Regions from separate parts of the Homo sapiens genome. Here region 2 is linked to region 1. Evidence: promoter capture Hi-C in 16 types of primary human blood cells and fetal thymus (Javierre and others, 2016). All regions are on one chromosome and are shown on one strand. Each heading gives the region's core, a stretch centred on a gene start or on the middle of the fragment in contact. The rest is flanking DNA. Distances are from core to core; before and after follow the strand shown. Region 1 holds the start of TASP1 (taspase 1). Region 2 overlaps ESF1 (ESF1 nucleolar pre-rRNA processing protein).

Region 1 (4,636 bases), core at 394-2,893:
TCACAATGGGGATGGTTTATGTCTGCTTCCTAATGCCTGGGCCAAACTTTCTGGCACTATATAACAAGGGCCCCATTTTCTCCAGCTTCCAATAACATCTTCCTTAGCTCCCTTTAAGCCCTCATTGGCAGCTTCCTCAAGTCCTTTTAGACTCTTGTTAATACTTTGGATCCCTTCCTGCTCTTGCTGCTTCACCTAGTTCCAAAGCCAGTGCCACACGTTTTACTTTTATGATGTTATTATGTTATGTTTTGTTATAATATCCATCCTACTTCTAGGTAACAAAATCGGTTTCAGTTACTATTGCTATGTAATAAACTGTTATTCTTACTATGTAATAAACTTCTTCCCCTTGCCCCTCCCTAAGAAGTCAGTGGTAGAAGAGAAAGAAAAAAAGCCCCAAGTTACATAATAAAACCACATAGGTTATATTTATAATAATGGTATCAGTGGTTCTCGAACTTTTTGGTTTCAGCATACCTTTATACTCCCCAAAATAGTAGAGAACACTCCAAAGCTTTTGTTTCTGTGGGTTACATCTATTAATATTTACTATATTAAAAATTGAATACAAAGCTGAAATGTGGCTGGGTGCGGTGGCTCACGCCAGTAATCCCAGAACTTTGGGAGGCCAAGGCAGTAGGATCACCTGAGGTCAGGAGTTCGAGACCAGCATGGCAAACATGGTGAAAACCCGTCTCTACTAAAAATACAAAAAATTAGTCGGGTGTGTATCGAGCGCCTGTAATCCCAGCTACTCAGGAGTCTGAGGCAGGAGAATCGCTTGAGCCCGGGAGGCAGAGGTTGCAGTGAGCCGAGATCGTGCCATTGCACTCCAGCCTGGTTGACAGAGTGAAACTCCATCTCCAAAAAAAAAAGAAAAAAACCAACAAAAAACTGAAATGTTAAAAAGTTATTTAAAATAACAATAATAAACCATTATGTGTTAATATAATTAAGACATTTTAATGAAGAATAAATATTTTCCAAAAACAAAAAAATGTGGTAAGAAAAGTGTTATCTTTTGCATTAGTGTAAATTCCTCTATAGCTGGCTTAAAGAAGCCAGTTAGATTCTCATTTCTGCCTTTACATTCAGTTCGACGTGATGTTTTGGTGGAAGTATAAGGAAAATCCATCAGTCATGGGTCATCAAAACCCATGACTGGGTTTCGGTCTTACATCCTAGCCGATAAAAGACCGCCTACACTCCTTCCCCCTGGGCAAGGCTCGTGCCCCAACTCCTACAAGCAATGCAGGCTGAACCTTAGTTTTCCCTACCGTCTAACAGTGCTCTAAGGATTGAAAGAAAGTAACTCTTAAGCGACACCTAGATAAAATGATGGTCAGTTTAATTTCATTTCTCATCACAGTATTAGTCAATCAACCACTCAGATATAATCACATCCTGCGGGCTTATTCAGGGGCGGGGTGGGTAGAGATAAGCAATAGCGCATGCGCAGCTCAGAACGAAGCCCCAGGTGGAGTTAGCGCTGCACCTCTGAGGCCAGGTGAGCCGCTCCGAAGCGGAGGGCGGAGTCAGAGCCGCTTGTGGGAGGCTGCTTCCGACCACGTGGTACCCCGAATGACCAATGGGGAGACTTGATGTCAGCCCCGCTTCCTCACCCTGGCAACGGGCGGGTGACTACTTCCGGTGCAGTGAAGGCTCGGGGCTGAAGCGGGTGAGTGTCCCTCTTTCCCACGCTGTCCGCGCCGCTGCCGCCTCCGCGCTGCTGCCTCTGTGTGTGGGCCCCGTACGCTAGCTGGGACGTCCTCTCCGGGTCCGAGAGGGGGCGGCGCGCAGGACACCCCTTGCCCCGGGCGGGGCTAGAGGAGGGGGCCAGGATGTCCCTAGTTCCCTAGTCTTGGTCGCTCTAGGCGGCCCCGTCGTCCCCCTTCCCAGCCTCATCTCCGGCTTGGCGTCCTCGTGGCCACCGGGGAAGTACTGTCTGTATGTGGGGAGTTCTCGCAGTTCTTCACCCACTTTGCAGTCTCAGGCTGGAGATGTCTCAGAGTCCGAGGTTCGCAGACAGCCGAGAATGTGCGCCTTGTCCTGGGTGGCGGGTTGGGGGTAAGGCAGCCCCTTACTTAGTAATAGAGGCCTGATGAGAGTCCTGCGGGTCGTTAGCACTTACTACTCAGGGGGAGGAGGAGGAGGAAGAAGAGGAGGAGGAAAGGACCGAGAAGATGGAGCAGCTGGAGAGGAGGGGGGGAAAGCAGGAGCTAGAGATGTCCTGGAAATCGAGGGTATCGTGTTTCCGGAAGGAGAGAGTTCAACTTTCCTGGCTTCTGTAGGGGAGGGGAAGGAAAGGTGTGTTAGGGGCCATTAGATTGCTGAATTATTATTATTCTTTATTAGCGAAGGAATTTTTACTTATATTCTTAGGAGTTTAATAATTTATCTTTTTTGTTGTAAATAAAACTTTTCCCCACCACTTACAAAAAGCAGTGCTTACTAAGGAACATCTGGAAAATGCAGAAATAGTTATGAAGAGATCACCTATAGTTCTGCCAACCCAGCATTTTGATCTTTTTTCTAATATTTTATTCATATTAACCTATTTGTGATCATAATGTATGCGTGTAAAATACGGTTATAACTAAGAGGCATAGTTACATACATTGTGTTCATTGCACGGATAGATTGTCTTTTTTCCTCTTGAGAAAGTCTTATTAAGGTATTCATGCACCATAAAATTTATTCTTTAAAATTGTAAATTTCAGTGCTTTTTCTCATATCGCAAAGTTGTGCACCCATCACCACTATCTACTTTCAGAACATTTTCATCACCCCCAAAAGAAATCCTATACTCATGACAGTCACTCCCCATTAGATTCTCTGCTTTCTCTCCCAGGCCTTGTAACCACTAATCTACTTTCTGTATCTATGGATTTTCCTATACTGGCATTTCATATAAATGGAATCATAGAATATATGGCCTCACTTGTCTGGTGTCTTTCAGTTAGTATGTTTTCAAGGTTCATCAATGTCTGTGTATCAGTATTTCATTCTGTTTTATGGATGGGTAATGTTCCATTGTGTGAATATGCCACATTTTGCTTAACCATCATCGGTCGATGGACATTTAGGTTGTTTCTACTTTTTGGCTATTTTGAATAATTCTGCTATAAACATCTGTGTACAAGTTTTTGTATGGACATACGTTTTCAGTTCTCTTGAGTATATACCTAGAAGTGGAATTGGTGGGCATATGGTAACTCTATGTTTAACTTTTTGAGTGAGTGCCAAATGTTTTCCAAACTGGTTGCACCATTTTACATTCCCACCAGCAGGTTATAAGGGTTCTGATTTTTTCATATCCTTGGGAGCACTTATCTTTCTTTTTGGTTATAGCAGTCTTAGTGCTTATAAAGTGGTAGCTCATTGTAGTGTTGATTTGCATTTCCCTGATGGCTAATAATGTTGAGCATCTTTTAATGTGCTTATTGACCCTTTGTATATCTTTGGAGAAATGTCCATTTAATTCCTTTGCCCATTTTTAAATTGAATTGTCTTATATTAAAGTTGTATGAGTTCTTTCTATATTCTAAATGTAAGTCCCTTTCCAGATACATGATTTGCAATATTTTCTTGCGTTTTCTCCCATTTTATGGGTTGTCCTTTTACTTTCTTGAATGGTGTCCTTTATCTACTTAGAATTTTTTTTTCAAAGACTTGTCAAGTGCAATAGGGAGGATATTTAGAGTTAATTTTTCTGTATGATGTGAGGTAGGAGTTCAGTTTCATTCTATTGCATGTGGCTATCCAGTTCTAGCATCATTTGATGAAAGGACTGTCCTTTCCTCCATTGAATGGTAGAAACCATTTCAACACTCTTGTTGAAAATCAGTTGATCATAAAAGTGTAGGTTATTGTTTTCTTAACCGTTTTTCTGTATTGGACATTTAGGTTGCTCCCAGATTTTTGTTATTCTAAATTATCCTGTGTTAAACATGGTATAAAAGGCATAAAACCTTTTCTCTATTTAGTTATTTTGGTAGAAAGTTTTCTCAGAAGTGGAATTACTGGTTAGAAGATGAATTTAAGTATGTCCTGGAGTTCATTTAATGAGGCATTAAACCTTCAATATCACGATGTTAAAAGCAACAACACAAGGCTGGGTGTGGTGGCTCACGCCTGTAATCCCAGCACTTTGGGAGGCCCAGGCAGGCGGATCATTTGAGGTCAGGAGTTCAAGACCAGCCTGACCAACATAGTGAAACCCCGTCTCTACTAAAAATACAAAAAAAAAAAAAAAAAAATTAGCCCGGCATGGTGGCCTGCGCCTGTAATTCCAGCTACTCAGGAGGCTGAGACACAAGAATCGCTTGAACCTGGGAGGCAGAGATTGCAGTGAGTTCAGATCATGCCACTGCACTCCAGCCTGGGTGACAGAGTGAGACTCTGTCTCAAAAAAAAAAAAAAAAAAAAAAAGCAACAACACAATTATTTATTCATGAGTTGTAATAGCTTAAGGGCTGGATTTCTATCAAAGCCCTTTGCTGTAAGATGGATGAATTCCATGACTTACTTCCTTTTTCAACTGCTTCTTAAAGAATAAGCAAACCTACGGTGAAAAACTTTAACACCACAGCAACAGGACGTGGTAGTTTTCAAAGTGGTGTAAGAAAAAAAA
Region 2 (5,131 bases), core at 437-2,936, 95 kb before region 1:
GTACATTTAAAATTTTAGACTGAACTGATTGTGTGCTGACCTATGGGCAGAATACATAAATTATTTTGTTCTTTGAAATCAACTTGTTTTATCAGAATTTGCTGCTTTCTCTCAAATGAACATCCCAGTTTACATTTCTTAGGTGCTGTTTATCTGTTGAATCAGAGATCTAAACATGGTTTTATATTACACATTTCTCCTGAAAACTGTTTACTAAATGAATTATGTTTTTCTCATAAGAAACATTTTTGAATTGAGAATTGTGTTCTGATTTGGCATCCTGTAAGTTAGAGATCCTAACAGCAGTATGTCATAAAAACAAATCTGTGTTACCTTGAGTGTGCATATAGGTTAACATTAATACTTTTCTAAGCTATAGAAATTTGGAGATTAATTCTTGGGTTAAAAACCAAGGAAGGTCTTAGAGATCTGTTTCAGCTGTTTCAAACTGTTGGTTGAAGCTCAAGGCCCAAAAGCAGTGTTTTTAGTTGTTTTATATATTTTTACTTTTACCAAATGTTTTGAGGGGGGGAAATCAGTGCACGTGGGAGGAAAGGGTTGCATACTTCTGATCTAAACCATTCATTTTGCAGATAAGGAACCAGAGGCCCAAAGTTTTAGATTTTATTCTTGGGCCATATATTTCTTCATTCTGTAGGTCAAACTAGCATTTTAGATGTATCTGATAATAGAAGAGAGGATGACCAGGAATTCAAAATTTAGCTGTGCAGCTTCCTACCTCCATGTTCTTAGACAAATTGCTAAATGTTCTCAGTCTGTATATACTCATCAACAAAAGAGAACTGTATTTAGTATCGTTTCTACTTTCTTAGAATTTAGAATGTATCTGAGAAGATGATCTGGTTTGATGATGTCTCTTTTTTTAATGAATTTTGTGTCATCTAAATATTTAAAGATCCACCCAACTATGTCCTCTAAACACTACTACAAAATAAAAAACATCTTTATTATCAAAGGGGACAGCACAGTATTTACATTTCCTTTACTTTGGCAATAATGAGGGTCTTTGTAAATGGATAGATCAGCCTTAGGGCTTTTTCTCCCACCTTGTTACCCCCTCTAGTTATTGCATAAGATACCTAGAAACGTGAATCGGGAACAGCAGACTATAGGAAGAAAGACCTTTTGAGATGAAATATAAGAGCAAATAGCAGCATTGAAAGAGCTAAACCATATGATGAAATGGAATCTGAACTTGGTGGTCCTTCTGATCTTTTCTATGAGGCCTCACAGAATGCTTGAGAAAAGATTGAGAATCCTTTGCTCATGGGATATTTCAACAGGGATTCCTTACTAAACAATTTTTGTTCAAAACCTGTAGTTTGCAGAGAACATAGGCTTTCACTTGGATGACAGAAGCAAGTGGGGATAATTAAAGACAAGAAAAGCCACTTGTCTTTTGCTACAAAAATTAATTAGTATCCTGAGAAGAATTAGTTCAGAAGTTTTCTTAGCATCTCAAAACAGAAAAGTTTAGAGAAATGAAGGCTGAGCCTAAATACAGTATTTTTCTTTAGTGGCTTGACCATGTATCAAGTTGCTAGGTTTGTTTGTTGGTTTGTTTTGATTTTGTTTGGTTAGGTTATTGTTGTTTGTTATTAGGAAATAACTTTTATAGAAGTTGGTCCTATGTCACTGTATGATATTGGGGTATTACAGATATTTACCATTGCATGTTATCTTTGTTACTCTATTAAATATGCATAAATTATATTTGTCTTTATAAATTATATGTTTAAGTGATTGCCAGACAATAAGACATTTTAAGCTAAACTATTTGGATTTTTCCTCAGGTCTTAAAGAAAGTGCAGAAGAGATGGTCAAAAACAAATTGGAAGGAAAGGATAAACTGACCCCTTGGGAACAATTTTTAGAGAAGAAGAAAGAGAAAAAAAGACTGAAAAGGAAACAGAAGGTATCATTGATAATTATGACCAAATGTTTGTTGAATACCAACCATATATCAGATGGTACCAGGTGCTTGGAATCCATTATCTCAAAATGTAACCACTCACTGAAGTAGGCCTTGTTATCATCCCAATTTTAAGAAAGAGGAAAGTGAGAATGCAGAAAGTTTTTTCATCATGGCCACATAATGGTGTACAAAGCCTGGTCACAGTCCAGAGCCACTTCAACTGCTGCATTCTGACATTTTACATTTACATGCCACCTACGTAAAACACATAGTTAATATCTAGATATAAGCAGTATGATTCTGTTCTGTGTTTCTGAGCAAAAGAGGTACATACAGACATTTTTCCTTGAGGATATATGCACATAGAGGTTTTTAACATGAGTGAAATTATGCCATACTTTCCATCTGTCAACCTGCATTTTCACCTTACAGTATTATCTTATGGCTCATCTGTCACCTTATTGTCATTAAATTCCTTTATCAAGAGTATTTCCTGGCTGGGTGTGGTGGCTTATGCCTGTAATCCGTGCACTTTGGGAGGCCAAGGCAGGTGGATCACCTGAGGTCAGGAATTCAAGACCAGCTTGGCCAACATGGCGAAACCCTGCCTCTACTAAAAATGCAAAAATTAGGTGGATGTGGTGGCGCGCACCTGTAATCCCAGCTACTTGGGAGGCTGAATTAGGAGAATCGCTTGAACCCAGGAGGCAGAGGTACAGTGAGTCAAGATCGTGCCACTGCACTCCAGCCTGGGCGACAGGGCAAGACTCTGTCTCAATAAATAAATAAATAAATAAATAAATAAATAAATAAATAAGAGTATTTCCTCTGTGTTAATGTGGTTTCTGTGGACAATATGATTTGACTCATGTTGTTCAGGGAATAGCATCTTTTCCAGAGTTTTCCAGAGTCCTCAGTAATAGTACAGATCACTTAGGTTTTTGCCACTAAAAGTGCTCTTGTGACTGAAATGCAGCATTCTGGAAGTGGTGTGCCTTAGAGCGTTATTACTGATAATGACAAAATTTTGCAGCTTGGGGAATCTTAAAATTATTAATTCTAGTCCAGCCCTGTTTTATAGTTGTAAAAAAAATTAGCTGATTAGTCTGAGGTTACATAGCATACCAGTGGCCAAGCTGAGACCAGAATCCACAGTTACTCAGACCAGTGTTCTTTCTTCTGTTCCCCACTATACTGTTTCTATACTGTGTGTTCTTATAATGCTTTTGGTATAGCTTTGACTTTTAGTGCTGTGACGGGTAGAGAGATGCAAAGCTGAATGATGCAGTGGAGTAATTTTTATACTTCTATTGTAGTCAGTGTTTGTGGAAATGGATAGTAAAATGGAGAAATTGGGTGTTTTGGGAAAAACTCTTTCTGACTTTGTTTTTCCTCTGCTGTCACACTACAACTATCAACACAGAAGAAGACTTCTGTGACCAAATGGGTAGGGAGTTTTCTCCACACACTAACCAGTGGACACCGGCTGGGTGACCTCCAATTCCAACACTACCTGGAGATAGTGTCAGATCCCATAGATTGGGGGCTCGGTCCCCAAGACTGCCTCCACCCTTTCAGACACCAGTCTGAAGTCTGGACATCCAGAACTTCTGATTGACTGGCTTCAAGTTGGGGTTCCCACGACCCCCTCTTTAGGTTCAATTAATTTGCTGGAGTGGCCACAGACCTTAGGGAAACATTTACACACATTTGCTGGTTTATCATAAAGGATATTACAAAGGATACAGAGGAAATAGGGTAAGGTATGGGGGAAGGGCTGTGGAGCTTCCATGCCTCCCTGGGCGCTCCACCCTCCAGGAACCTCCATGTGTCCAGCTATCCAGAAGCTCTGTGAACTCGTTTCTCGGGTTTTTATGGAAGCTTCATGATGCCAGCATTCCTTCCCCACAACTACAGGGCAGGACCCTCTCTGGGGAAGGTCTTAAGATGCACAATTAGAAAGGTGAGGGAAGAGTACAGTCCTGCCCTTAAGACCGAACACAAAAGACTATAGCAAGGGCTAAGGAACTTATGAGCCAGAAACCATGTATGAAAATAATATATATGTAACACCACGTGGGGTAAGAGCCCTGCTCCCATTGATGTGCTAACTAACTCTCTTCTTCCCTAGAACTCCTTTTCAAACTCAGTAGGCAGTAAAATATCTTTTTTTTTTTTTTTTTTTTTTTGAGACCGAGTCTCGCTCTGTCGCCCAGGCTGGAGTCCAGTGGCCTGATCTCGGCTCACTGCAAGCTCCACCTCCCGGGTTCACACCATTCTCCTGCCTCAGCCTCCCGAGTAGCTGGGACTACAGGCGCCCGCCACCACACCCGGCTAATTTTGTTGTATTTTTAGTAGAGGCGGGGTTTCACCATGTTAGCCAGGATAGTCTCAATCTCCTGACCTCATGATCCTCCCGCCTCGGCCTCCCAAAGTGAGTAAAATATCTTATAAATGAAATAACTCCACAAGTGTTAAGCTATCAGTTTATTGGAGATGTCTCAAGTGGGCCCTCATGGGGTCAATAAAGTAGTCATTCTGAGAATTGTAGCAGCTATTCAGTTTGATTTTCATTTGCTGGGAGCTTCGAGTTTGTGCTTTTACTTTTTCCATTCATTTGGGCTAAGTCTGGACTCGTTGGTCAGCAGCATTCAAAATACATTGTTGAGTGTCCAGGGTGTTCTAGACCCTACAGTACTCAGTACCGGCCTTGACTCCAACAGATCCTTTCCAACTCCACAGGTTCTTTGTATATAGAAGAGTTTCAAGAATTTTCTTCAAGTTAAAAATATTTTTGCCCATTTGTTCCTCAGTGGTTTCAATTTTGATACTGAAAAATTATTACTGAAGAAATGAATACCTGATATATGCCGTGTTATCTAGTATTTTGATCTAGCTGTTGTTGAGATCTATAAAGCAGTTAAAGAAATGTGTTGAGTAGGTACATAGCAAATATTCTTTGTTAAAAGTATGTTACTGCTGAATCCATAAAATAGTTTGGTAAAAAAAAAAAAAAATTCTTAGAAGCGCTTGTTCTGGCTGGGTGCGGTGGCTCATGCTTGTAAACCCAGTACTTTGGGAGGCCGAGGCGGGCGGATCACAAGGTCAGGAGATCAAGACCATCCTGGCTAACACAGTGAAACCCCGTCTCTACTGAAAATACAAAAAAATTAGCTGGGCGTGGTGGCGGGCACC

Evidence for each region. The method cuts DNA at HindIII sites, captures the fragments that hold promoters and counts their contacts. A CHiCAGO score of 5 or more calls a contact.
Region 2: a contact is called between a fragment that was not itself captured here and the fragment with the promoter of TASP1 in region 1, in 1 of 17 cell types (total B cells). The highest score is 6.1, in total B cells.

Annotation. Positions count from the first base shown.
Region 1 is chr20:13,635,939-13,640,574 of GRCh38, reverse strand. It overlaps TASP1 (taspase 1), which reads left to right and starts at 1,643. Exons shown (of 14, transcript NM_017714.3): 1 at 1,643-1,681. RefSeq lists a silencer at 1,743-1,892 and enhancers at 2,083-2,172, 1,786-2,286. The HindIII fragment of the contact is 10,129 bases long and covers 520-4,636 here.
Region 2 is chr20:13,730,526-13,735,656 of GRCh38, reverse strand. ESF1 (ESF1 nucleolar pre-rRNA processing protein) reads left to right here. Exons shown (of 14, transcript NM_001276380.2): 10 at 1,815-1,936. Among named protein-coding and RNA genes, the nearest start is that of ESF1, 52 kb to the left of the region's middle. The HindIII fragment of the contact is 4,266 bases long and covers 1-3,819 here.